Linked DNA regions of Homo sapiens: region 1 is linked to region 2. Evidence: promoter capture Hi-C in human tissues and cell types (Jung and others, 2019). All regions are on one chromosome and are shown on one strand. Each heading gives the region's core, a stretch centred on a gene start or on the middle of the fragment in contact. The rest is flanking DNA. Distances are from core to core; before and after follow the strand shown. Region 1 holds the start of MIR545 (microRNA 545). Region 2 holds the start of CHIC1 (cysteine rich hydrophobic domain 1).

Region 1 (6,468 bases), core at 3,649-6,148, 720 kb after region 2:
ACCAGCAAGAAAGTATCTGTCCTCTAATCTACTAGTGACCATGAGACCCAGGCAGAAAGTTCTCCCACCATAGATAGGGAAGATTGGTGCTGCCTAGCTGAGAGGAGAGGGGAAGCAGGAGCCTTGATAGGTTTGAGCCATCTCTTTATTGGAGCAACTAAGGCCACCATTTACTAGAGCAAGACTTGCATATTCATAAGCAGCTGCTGCCACTAGCAATTATTGTAGCTTTAAAGCCCAGAGGGACAAGGGCAGAAAAGGAATGTGTAGAGGGCCTAACTGTGAAATAAATGAGAAGTGTAAACACTGATCCAGAAAATGCTTGCACTAAGGAGCCAGGAATAGAGGGGTAGGTGGTAGTTAGTGCCTTCCTCTGAAGGCAGTGATCTTATTTCCACCATTCCCTTCCCCCCACCCCACCCAGTTCTTTTCCAAACTAAATTTCTCCAGTTTCCAGAACCCCTCACCACCCCCATTTATTCCACTTCTGTTCAGGTCAACAATTTCAAAATGGAAATAGTTTCAATGTGCCTCTAACTTTGATAGTCATAGATGAACACTGCAAAAAAAAAAACAAAATTCCAGAACTATATTAGGCAAAGAATGTAAAAATCAGCCAGAGTCCAGGCGCGGTGGCTCAGGCCTGTAATCCCAGCACTTTGGGAGGCCGAAGCGGGCGGATCACAAGGTCAGGAGATCGAGACCATCCTGGCCAACATGGTGAAACCCCGTCTCTAATAAAAATACAAAAATTAGCTGGGCGTGGTGGCGCATGCCTGTAATCCCACTCGGGAGGCTGAAGCAAGAGAATTGCTTGAACCAGGGAGTCGGAGGTTGCAGTGAGCCGAGATCACGCCACTGCACTCCAGCCTGGCGACAGAGCAAGACTCCGTCTCAAAAAAAAAAATCAGCCAGAATCCCAGAAAAGTTTAACACTTGGGGTATGTTCATCCAACAACTTCCATGTACATACACAAACATGAATTCTTATTTTACAATGATTAGATGAAACTATACTATTGCCCTTTAGCCCTTTTTCAATTAATATACTGTATACTTCTTTCCAAGTCAAATATTTATCTTCAAGACTATTTTTATTTTTAATGGCTATGCTGTCCCATTACATGAATACACCAAAATGTATTTAACCAAGTTCCTATTCATGACTAGGTAAGTTTTTCCATTATTTACTGTTATGAACACCGTGAATATGCCCATATCTAAATCTTTTTTTAAATAATGTTAAACATATATTTGGGGGTATATCCCTATAAATGAATACAAATCTTACAGTGTAAGAGATTTGCAAAGATCAGTAAAACACATCTCTACCCTTGAGTTTAAATCAAAGGAGAGAGACACAAACAGGTAACATTTACCATTATCATGTCCATGGATAAAGATAAACAAAATTTCATGGTGCTTCCTAATTGAAACTGCAGCTGTTGCTAACAGAAAAGGCTCAAAGAATACTATTAGACAGTAGCCCAAATTAAAATTCCATTTGCTAGAATTCCAAAGTTATTCTAATGCTAAATATTGCCTCATTGGCATTTCAATATGACATTGTTGTTTCTCCTTTAGCAAGCCTTAAAGGAGAGAACCAAGCAGAAGCTGCTCAGAAAACCACCTACCCTAAAGGCAGAGAAGTGAGTAAGGTGCAGGGCAGTATATGACACTGGACCTGGACTTCCATCTTTCCTTCCCCCTACTATTTCCAGTAAACAACAGTGAGCTATAGCCATTTTCTTTCAGAAACAACGTGGATTCTCTCCCTGGGACTCTCATTCCTGCACAGATCTGCTTACACATAGTTGGGCTGTGCTGGTATTCATGCTGACTTAGAAGACAAAAATAAGAATGAAAAGAAGCTTTTTCAGCACCATGATGGGTCAGATACAGATGACATTAACACAGAAGACAGACAGATTTTTAAAACCTATTCAACAAAGATGAGTTACTGTGATAACACAAACAGTCCTGAATCTTATAGTAACATTTCAGTCACAGGCGCATATACAATGGTGGTCCCATAAGATAATAACACCACGTTTTTACTGTACCTTTTCTATGTTAGATATGTTTGGATATACAAATACTTACCACTGTATTCCAAATGCCTACAGTATTCAATACAGCAACATGCTGTACAGGTTTGTAGCCTAGGAGGAATAGGCTATACCATATAGCCTAGGTGTGTAGTAAGCTATACCATCTAGGTTTGTATAAGTACACTCCCCTATGATGTTCACACAACAACAAAATGACTTAATGATCCATTACTCAGAACATATCCTGTCTTTAAGCAACACATGACTGTATAGTTAAATGTTAATTATAAAATCTAGGTGTTGGGTACATGGCTTTTCACCGTACAATTCTTTCAACTTTTCTGTATGTATGTTTGACAACTTTCACAATACAATTTTGGGAAAAATCCAGCAAGCAGCTTTAAAAATATGGCTGTAAGACCTTTCCTTCTATTATATTTTATTCCTAGGATGATCCTATCCAACGAGATGAACCTATTCAGTGTTTCCTCCATTTTGTTTTAGATTTAGCTTTCTCAAATATGACTTTGAGCTCTCCGACTTTTTAATGAAGTGAAATGAATCAACATGTATTCATAGGCAGGTTACCAAGATAGTACATGTAAAGTTGGGGAGGCACAAGGGGAGGGGCTCTAAGCTCTTGGAAGTCTAGGCTCACTATCTGTATACATCTAAATAAATGAGTATTTCAGACACCCCACTTCTTCATTTAAAAATTAGTGTTAGGGACCCTCTAAACATTTGCCTCAGCTTACCTTTCTGCCTTATCTCACATTAAGTCCTTATTTCCCATATTCTCATTGCAAAGAACTGTGTAGGAAGGAGGGGGGCAAGGACGAAGGCACCAAAGCATGCTATGTCCACGTGCTTCAAGTTTGAATATAATAAAAGGTATTTCTAGAGTAGAGGTTCAAAGCTTGATGTTGAAGGGCAGGGTATAACTGACTGACTGCAGGACCCTGGGGGAGGTCTTATAATCTTCTACTTTAAAACATGTCTTAGCTGGCTTATCTGTAAAAGAGGAAAAAGACTTGTCACAAGCAATGACAAATGAAGTAAATAAATATGAATTTCTGGTCTGGTGAATGGAATGAGAAATGAAACCATCACTGTCGAGTGATGATCCAGAGTGGGCACAGATCTTTTTCTACAAAGGCTTTGTGGGCCACAATGTCTCCAATATATTTAATGGCAAAAACAGCAACTACTTTTGCACCAACCTAATAGCTACTTAATTGTGCCACTGGGCCGCAAAAGCGGCCCCAGGTAAAACATCGATGAATGAACATGGCTGTGTTCCAATATAGAATGGTATTTACAAAAACAGGTAGCCCATGGGCAATAAAGTTTGCCCACCCTTGGTTTAGAATATGGAGTCTGGTTGGGTGCAGTGGCTCACACCTGTAATCCCAGCACTCTGGGAGGCTGAGGGAGGTAGATCGCTTGAGTCCAGGAGTTCAAGAACAGCCTGGGCACCATAACGAGACCCCTTCTCTACGAAAAATACAAACATTAGCCAGGGGTGGTGGCACACACCTATAGTCCTAACTCAGAATGCTGAGGTGGAAGATCACCTGAGCCTAGGAGTTCGAGGCTGCAGTGACCCGTGTTCGCACCATTGCACTCCAGCCTGGGCAACAGAGTGAGAACCTGTCCCTTAAAAAAAAAAAAAAAAGAAAGAAAAATGCAAAGTCCTATCTAAGAATACTATTTGGATGATTACCTGGGCCCTGAGGATGAGGCCCCAATCTAACAGTTATCACTCAAGTCCCACCAAGAAAGCAAGTGTCAGCAATAGCAACAGTTGCAACATCTGTAAATATCAAGGACTGAAATCCAAACACAAAAATGGCATTGTCTCATGAGAAACTCTTAGGAAGATATATACAGAAATATCAAATTTCTGACCACATGCTTTTTGAAGAAACAGCTGACAATCCAGAGCCTGTGGAGCTCACTTTAGCAGGCACACAATAAATGTTTGCTGATGAGTCATTCATTTATTCATCTAATAAACATTTACTGAGGCCTACTAATGTGCCAGGCTGGGCTCTGGAGATGAAGACACCTTCCTTGCCCTCAAGGAGCTCACAGTCTAACTGATAACAGGAAGAGAGACAGGCATATACACAGACAATTACAATACAATCTGATAAGTGCTATAACACTTATCAGGTTGTATTATAATGGCCGATGTAAAATTTCTTCCCAGGGGGTGCTGCTCCAGGCTGCTGCTGGCTGTAACATCAAGAGAGGTGAGGAACAAATTATAGAAATCAAAGGTTAAATGCTTTTCGGTTATTTCAAATATTCAGGCTTTCCCTAACCCGTGGCCATAGACGGAATTGGGAACTAGACACTGGCATGATGTAAAATGGGACTTCCATGCACAGACTTCCAATAAAGGAACTTCTCAATCCCCTCCTCTAAAATATGAGCTTTTTTTTTTCCTTTTTGCTTATACTCCTCTTAACCTCCCCACCCTACTACCCACATGAGCCTGGTTTAATATCTACAGCTAGCAAAATGCTGAAAAATGGGAGCTTACAACTAACTGGATTAACCCAGTGTAACCGGATAGCAAAAAGCAGTAAGTAATAGCTCATTTGGCACTTCTAAATCCAATAATCCTCATCCTTCACTGGAAAAAAAAAGTTAGAATGTTATTAAATACAAAATAGATAATATACAGATCAGAGTAGGAATAAGTTAGAAAAGTTTATTTAATAAACATAATTAAACAGATTCTCTAAACTAGAAATAACATTCAGTTTCAGGAAACCAGAATTAGACCCCTCCAAGACCTTTGAGAATATCTAATTCACCTATGTATTATAAACAAGAAAAATGAAACAGAGAGATAACACACTCTGCCCACTCCCTTTTCAAAATCATGTGAGTGATAGTAACAGACTCCTTGAGGCAAGATTATTACTGTAATAGTTATTTGGTTCAGATGGTTTTATACAAAGATAAGATGGCATTTTTCTGTGCCTCATACCTTTCTTAATAATACCTAGGTTTTTACTGGCTTTTTTGTCTCTGACCAGCAAATAGGGCTGATAACATCAGCAAGTTGTTGACAGTTATACTGAGATCACTGTTTTGGGACCCAATGTCTCTATGAGGCTGTTATTTAATAAGCTTAACATACTATTTTCCCCTAAAGTTATTTCACTGCTCTTGCCTATACACTGTTCCTTTCTGCCAATTAGCCCACTCCTGGTGCCTTCTCACATGCTAGCGTGTTCCTATTAGCATTTCACATCCCCAAAGCATTTAACAGTATGTATAAATGTGGACACTTCAATATTGCCCATATCCTCCCTCAGACCACTCAGAAATATTTAAAATAAGACCAGTCCCTGAATGGATGGGGGAGAAGGGACCGCTGTTTTGTTTCTTGTCTAAATTAGTTTCTCATTAGGGACAAAATGTTGCCCTGTCTTCTCCCCATGCCCAGAGCCAGGAAGCACCACTGTTGTACAGTACTCAAAAGTGCTTTCCTTTTAGATAAAAAGAAATGGATTTCTGTTTAAAGGTCAGACAAGGCTGGGTAAGGTGGCTTATGCCTGTAATCCCAGCACTTTGGGAGGCGGAGGCAGAAAGATTGCTTGAGCCCAGGAGTTCGAGACCAGCCTGGGCAAGACCTCCACTCTAAAAATAAAAACAAAAATAAGATAGAGGTCAGACAAATGTTATCTCAAAATGGCTACCAAGAACCAGACATGTATCCACACAGCAGTTATATTTGGAATTGCAAACATTTCTTCAGACTCAATGGCAACAAATATTACTGGGAGCATATCTGCAACAAACGACATTTGCAACTTACAAATAACATTCAGGCACAAATTGAATAATTCACAAAAGGAAATAAGAGCTAGTAATTAAGATCTAAAAGTCCAGCCTCACTAATAATCAGAGAACTGTATCACAAAACAAAGATATCGGCCAGGTATGGTGGCTCACCCCTGTAATCCCAGCATTTTGGGAAGCCGGGGTGGGAAAATCACTTGAGCCCAGGAGTTCAAGACAAGCCTGAGCAACATGGCAAAACTCCATCTCTACAAAAAAATTTAAAAATTAGCTGGACATGGTGGCACACACCTGTACTCCCGCTACTCAGGAGGCTGAGGTAGGAGGATCTCTGGAGCCCTGGAAGTTGAGGCTTCAGTGAGCCATGATCACGCCACTGTACTCCAGCCTAGGCGACAGGGGGAGAGCCTGTCTCAGAAAAAAACAAAAACAAAAAAACCCCACAGAGATATCATTCATTCATTTACATATGGAGTCAGCAAAAAAAAAAAAAGCAAAAACATTTTTTATAAGTACCTAAATGACTGGGTACAAAAACTGACATTAATTTTTTGAAAAGTAAATATGCCAATTCTTTATAATGTTCAAATCTTTTGAC
Region 2 (6,592 bases), core at 2,060-4,559:
GAAGTCTCTTTGGAAAAATAGCTTGGCAGTTTCTTAATAAGTTCAACATCATCTTAGCATATGACTCAGGAATTCCACTCATAGGTTATCTATCCAAGAGAAATTAAAACCTATGTTCAAACAGAAGCATGTGTGTAAATGTTCGTAGCGGCATTTTCATAACATTCAAAATGTGGCAGCAACCCATATGTCATCAACTGGTAAGTGGATAAACAAAATGCAATTTATCCCAACAATGGAATGTTATTCATCAATTAAAAGGAATAAAGTACTGATACATGAAACAACATTGATGAACCACAAAAACATTATATGCTACGTGAAAGAAGCTAGACACAAAGAGCACACAGTGTATGATCCCATTTATTTAAATGTCCATTAAACAAATCTGTAGAAAAGAAGGTAGATTAATGCTTACCAAGTGTTGGGGATGAATGGGGAATGGCTGAAAAATGGGACAGAGATTTCTTTTGGGGATGATGTAAATGTTTTAGTTTGTAGTGACAGTTGCACAACTGTGACTAAAATCAATAAATTGAATGCTTTAATAAATAAATAAAATAAAGCTGTCTTTAAAAGGTTACAATTCTTTTCAGCTGTTTAAGGTTGAAACCCTCTCAGATGGTTAATGATCTCATGCCTCAGGTCTCTATTAATTATATGGGAGAAATACCCCCATACCCCACTTAGCAAGTTAGGCATAATGTTACATGACCTGCTTTCTTCTCCATCTACTCCTCGATTTACTATTCTTAATACTAAGGTATCATTTAGAAACCATGGTGTTACTCGTGTTTACTGACAATAGATAAACAAAATGTATTTTTCTTCAGCTTGCTTAATTCCAAATTCTCCTATATTTAAGCAAAACAAATTACCTTTGGAATCACATATGACTTTTAATCACAACATATAAGCCAGAAAACAGATGGACAGATTTGACTACACTTGTGTGTTTAGCCAAGTATAGCACTTCCCTGAATGTTTGGTCTTTTTGACATCTGACTAAACATGAGGGGCCTCTTTCTATTTTAACAGATTTTCCCCATCCCTTTCCTTCCTTCTCATTCTTCAAGGCCATAATTTCTCCACTTTTACCATAGTTCCAATATCTTACTTGCACTCATTACAAAGTCCACCCCCTACTCCTTTCCCTTCCTGTACTTCAAATAGCCTTTCCTAGCCTAATCTTGAGTGTGAGGAGAAACTACCATTTAAGCAGTAGTCAGTGAAATACTTTTCCCTCTAGACACAGACTTAGTGGACCTTCGTGGATAAGATATTTGGAAAAATTTTAAATGTCATTTACAGTTTTTTTTTTTTGCCTCTTGAAAGAGAAGAACTGTTGCAAAGTATTAATTTTGATCTTAACTCTGACACATTTATTAACACCCCAAAAAAGCAAAGATATATATGTCTTGCCAGAAGGCTATACAAAATATTTTAAGGTTCTATCTTCTATAATTCCTGGCTAGTAGATACAGTTATCTAAACTACAAAAAGTTATAATTTGTTGCTTATTGATAATGTTATGACTTTTTTTTTTTTTTTTTTGAGACGGAGTCTCGCTCTGTCGCCCAGGCGGGACTGCGGACTGCAGTGGCGCAATCTCGGCTCACTGCAAGCTCCGCTTCCCGGGTTCACGCCATTCTCCTGCCTCAGCCTCCCGAGTAGCTGGGACTACAGGCGCCCGCCACCGCGCCCGGCTAATTTTTTTTGTATTTTTAGTAGAGACGGGGTTTCACCTTGTTAGCCAGGATGGTCTCGATCTCCGACTTATTTTTAAAGTTCCCTAAATAAACCAACTTTTGAATAAAAATGGGCTTTTCATTTTAATAACACATACTCCTTGATGATAATGGTTTGATTCATTTCTCTTACAGAACTAATTTCTTCCTACTTCACACACATTAAATGCTTTGTTTATACTGATAATGTCGTGCTCATCCTAAATTAAAGTTTGACTATGTCTGTTTCCCCAGAGACACACCATCTGATTGGGATGCAGCCGTAGAGTAGCAGAAAGAGCAGTGAAGCTGGTATTAGAATGCCTGGATTACAGTGTTTGTTCTGTTACTTAGCAGCTGTGTGACTTTACTGTCTTAATGATATGGATTTTTGTGCTGCTGCCAAGTATGAAACAGTTTGGCACACTATTTAGATACGCAAAATATGTGATCCCCACAACATTTTAGTGAGTGTAAAGAAGATAGGATAGACCATTTAAAATGGAAAATTTTGAACAAAAGGTCACCATAGACTTGAATAAATTACTTAAACTTCTGAGACCCACTTTTGTCATGTAATAAAATAGATATAATGATACTTACCTCTCAGGATTAAGGGTTAACTGAAATATTGTATGTGAGGGTCTAGCTCAGTGTCTGGAAAATGGATGATGTTAATTAAGGTTTCCTTAGGTTGGAATGCTCCTTTCACCCCCTCCATCCGCCCCCTCCCCCAAAAAACACTCCAAAATTCAAACATGCATATTCTGATTCATCTTTTAAGGAAGAGCCCAAGAGGCACCATTCTACAAAATCTTTCCAAACAACTTCAGGCAGTACAGCCCTTTGGTTAAGAGTACTGGGCTTCTGGAATCAGAAGAGACCACCAAATTTAAAACCAGGTCTCCCATTTAGTAGCTCCCTGACACTGGACAAATTACTTATTTTCTCTGCACCTAGATTTCCCATCTGTAATATAAAATCATCATGATACATACCTCATAGGGTTGCAGAGGATTAAATGAGATATACATACAGAGCACTTAGCACAGTCCCTGAGTTAATAAGTCCTCCGTTAAGTATTACATAGGAGAAGTAGTAAAAAGTTTCCTCTTAAGTAAAATGCTAATAAAAGTGCTTACCCTGCCTCCCAAGATTGTGGCAAAGTTATGACGCAAGGCTTTTAAACTGTAATGCTGAACAAACGTAAGGGATTGGTATATACCTTGAGATATTTTGGACAAAGTTCTAACCTTACTTTTATACAATATGCTTTCTCTCACCCGCCTGCAGTTGGGTTAATAATGCCCAGCATTAATTAATAAGCAATAAAATCAGAAGATACCCCGAATACAAGTAGCTGACGCTCAGAGAGCAGTATTAAGGCGAGCACCCGCAGACCGGACCTGGATAACTCCTTGGAGTTCACCTCTAGCGGCCCCCTCCCCTTGGAGCTGCGCAAGCGTACACTGACTTTGCTCCTCTCTAGTGCCCCCGCCTCCAGCAGCCGCCCCCCCACCCCCCCGTCTGCCCAACACGCAGGCGCGTCTCCTCAAATCCTGTCCCTACACCCCTCCTCTTTCTCTTCATTTCGTTCCCCCTCCTCTTGCAGCACCTCGGCAGGTTCAAACTCTTCTCCGGGAGCGTGGCGGCGATCGCGAGGTCACGTGATGAGCATCCTGCTGCCCAACATGGCGGAGTTCGACACCATCTCGGAACTGGAGGAGGAGGAGGAAGAAGAAGCGGCAACGTCGTCGTCGTCGCCGTCGTCGTCGTCGTCGGTATCTGGGCCCGACGATGACGAGGAGGATGAGGAGGAAGAGGAGGAAGAGGAGGAGGAGGAAGAAGAGGAGGAGGAGGAAGAGGAGGAGGAAGCGCCGCCCCCGCCTCGGGTAGTGAGCGAGGAGCATCTGCGGAGATATGCTCCCGACCCTGTATTAGTGCGGGGTGCCGGCCACATCACTGTGTAAGCGAGAGGGGGTCTTGGGACTTGAAATGCCTGAGATTTGGCAACAGAGGAATGAGAAGTGATCGAGGGGCCTGTGGAGTGGGGGAGGGTTGACTGATTGACTGAGGCGTACACTTAGGAAAGGACACCTGGTCTAAATGGGGAAACCATGGGTGGATACGTGTGAAGGAAGTGAGGAGAATGTAAATATGATGCACCAATGCCAGGTAAAGAGTGAGTATAGGAGAGGGAAGTTAGGGGTTTGGGAGCCAGAGCGATTGGAGTAGGGGTGAGTCTCCTTTCTTGTATGTATGCTGGCAAGTGAACAGTCTCTAAACTGCAGGATGTACCAGAGGGTTTTTTGCTGACAAGATTGATACTTTGTGGGAAACAGCAATTGCTGTGACATGTGACAAGAACTAGGCTTGCATTCTTCAAAACAGAAACATGATATATTTTGTGAATAATAATAGAATGTTCATTCACCCACGTATTCATCCATCCATTCTTCCTATCGAATCCTTCCTTATATATCACTCGATTAGAGGTTCAGGATGAGAGGCAGCTATGGAAAGTAGAAAAAGAAATGGATTGAGTCAGGGCTCTTAGACGCTGGTCCCGGTTTTGCTTCTTACTGGCCCTGTGACCTTGGTCAGGTTGCTTTTTCTCATTTCTGCGCCTTGATTTCTTCATCTCTAAAATGAAGGGTTTGGAGTAGATGGTTTCTAAAGCTTTTCAGTTCTGAGATAATTTACCTCCAAGGGATTTTGTATGCCCAAGTATGAAATATACAGGCATTAAATATATATGGAAATTAATACTTTGGGAGCTGAGCATAATTTCTTTAAAATTTATCCAGGGTGGTTTTTTAAAAAATTGAAATCTTGAGGAAAAATTGAATATTTCAGAAAATAAAATGGGGAGGGACTTCATAACAGCTACAAGGCAAAAATGTTGATGATTCTCCGGGATTTAAAGAGTGCTTCCTCATTTTTATTTGCTTGGACCATAACTATTTGGAAGTTTGAGTACTGTGTCATGTTCATCCTCTGAACTATGCTATCTTTTACTGCATTTTCAAAATAGGTTGCCTTTTGTTGTTATGTCATGCTGCCTCTGGTTTTGATAATGGCTCACCTAGTCCCTTTGACTTTCAATTGAGTTCATGTTACATTAAATCATATATATGCTACCTCCCTTATATTAGCTTCAATTTTTAACATGTTGAGTTTTTTTTTTTTTTTTTTTTTTTGAGACAGAGTCTCACTCTTTTGCCCAGGCTGGAGTGCAGTGGCGCAATCTTGGCTCACTGCAGCCTCTGCCTCCCAGGTTCAAGCAATTCTCCTGCCTCAGCCTCCTGAGTAGCTGGGACTACAGGCGTGATATGTTGAGTATTTTAATTGTAATATACTTTCGTAATCTTTGCATCAAATATATTAACAAATATTTTGAAATTGGGGAAGTGTTGGGGGAGGGTTTTAGAGCTGCTTTTTGATTAGGAAATTTTAAGACAATTTTTCTTGGTCCAAGAATTTTGCAGATAGCCTACAATATTCAGATGCCAACTTATTGCACGGTTTTACTTCCATTCCTTTTGTCACTAGGGAGACAATTTATTACTCAAACTAATTATGATGGCTGGTACCAAAGGTTACTTTTATGCAGATTATGTTACATGACCGTTTAGTCCATAATTTTATACTCCAACATTCCACCTCCACATTTGCAAAATTCAGGCAAAGGAGAAGGAACAAGAAAATAAAATTTAAGTTACCTGAAATTTATTTATGGTTCCATTCGACCCTGCACAGGTACTTACCAACCTATTTGCTTCATTAGAAGAACACTGACACTTGCCATGCCCAGGCCCTTCTGATTGGTATAATGTCCTTCTAATTAGGAGCATGCGGGTAGTACTGTTGGTATTCATTGACTGAAACCAAAACCTGAAAAGAAGCAAACCAGTACTAGACTCACTAACCATTGTATATACTTTGGAAACTTATTTAGTTTTGTTGTACACATTCTTATACCTAGAAATCACATATGATATTAAATGTCTTGGGATTTGAAAGAGATTACATGTCTTGGAGAAAATTTAACTGGATCTGAGAAATGGGTCTTTGTATGGTAGTGAAGCCTTCCTTTTATCAGTTAAAGTAATATCCTTATGAAGTAGGTAATCTTATTCTGCGACTTCTAAAATATCAACTTCTGTTTATTTTTTTTCTGGCATAGGAGTGTTAGAGTTGCCTTAAACTATATACCCTATCTGAATGAAATATTTAATATTCTCTACCAGCCCTGATTTTTTTCCATTCTTTGTGCAGCCTTCTGTTGTATAGAGCATTTTGTTTCTTCTCAAAGTTTAAAATTTGAGAGCCCTCACCTCAAACTCAGTATATTTTAAGCTCAACATCCTCTCCACATTGCCCGTGCTTTTCATTTGTTTCATTTCTTTCCTTGATGCCACCATTCTGATCTCCCAGGGTAACATTCAAAACCTTTGAGTCATTTTGACTCTTCCTTCTCCTTGAATTGCCCTGTGTCAGTCTGCCCCAGAATTATATCATCATAGTTTCTGAAATATCTCTTAGATTTTTCATTTTCTCATTCCTATTTGGCACCACTCTAGTTTGGGTTGCCATCATCTCCTGCTTGACTTATTGCCACAGTCTGCTGCCTCTCCCTACTCCAGTCCATCCTGTGTGCTTGTGCCAAACTAATTTTCTTAAAACACAGTTTAATCATGTCACTTTCCTGCTGAAAACCTGCATTGGATATTAATTAGCTCTGAGTTTCTGTGCCATCTTCCTTCAATCTCAGAGTTCAAGGAGACCCTCCATTTGTCCAATGCTCACCTGTCCATTTGTGCCTTCCATACCTTTCTCTTCCAGCCTCCTCCCAGATCTTGCTC

The links. Contacts are between HindIII fragments. The study calls those that stand out against the background at their distance.
Region 1: a fragment that was not itself captured here is called in contact with the fragment with the promoter of CHIC1 in region 2 in 1 of the 25 tissues and cell types used here (hippocampus).

The regions. Positions count from the first base shown.
Region 1 is chrX:74,283,109-74,289,576 of GRCh38, forward strand. All of the region lies in intron 1 of FTX (FTX transcript, XIST regulator), which reads right to left. It overlaps MIR545 (microRNA 545), which reads right to left and starts at 4,101; the gene lies at 3,996-4,101. MIR374A (microRNA 374a) reads right to left here and starts at 4,249; the gene lies at 4,178-4,249. LOC124905199 (a long non-coding RNA gene) reads right to left here. Exons shown (of 2, transcript XR_007068266.1): 2 at 4,757-6,468. RefSeq lists an enhancer at 602-1,211. The HindIII fragment of the contact is 4,959 bases long and covers 2,420-6,468 here.
Region 2 is chrX:73,559,888-73,566,479 of GRCh38, forward strand. CHIC1 (cysteine rich hydrophobic domain 1) reads left to right here and starts at 3,310. Exons shown (of 6, transcript NM_001039840.4): 1 at 3,310-3,693. The coding sequence starts at 3,398. It also overlaps the pseudogene MAP2K4P1. RefSeq lists a silencer at 3,230-3,289. The HindIII fragment of the contact is 8,688 bases long and covers 1-5,677 here.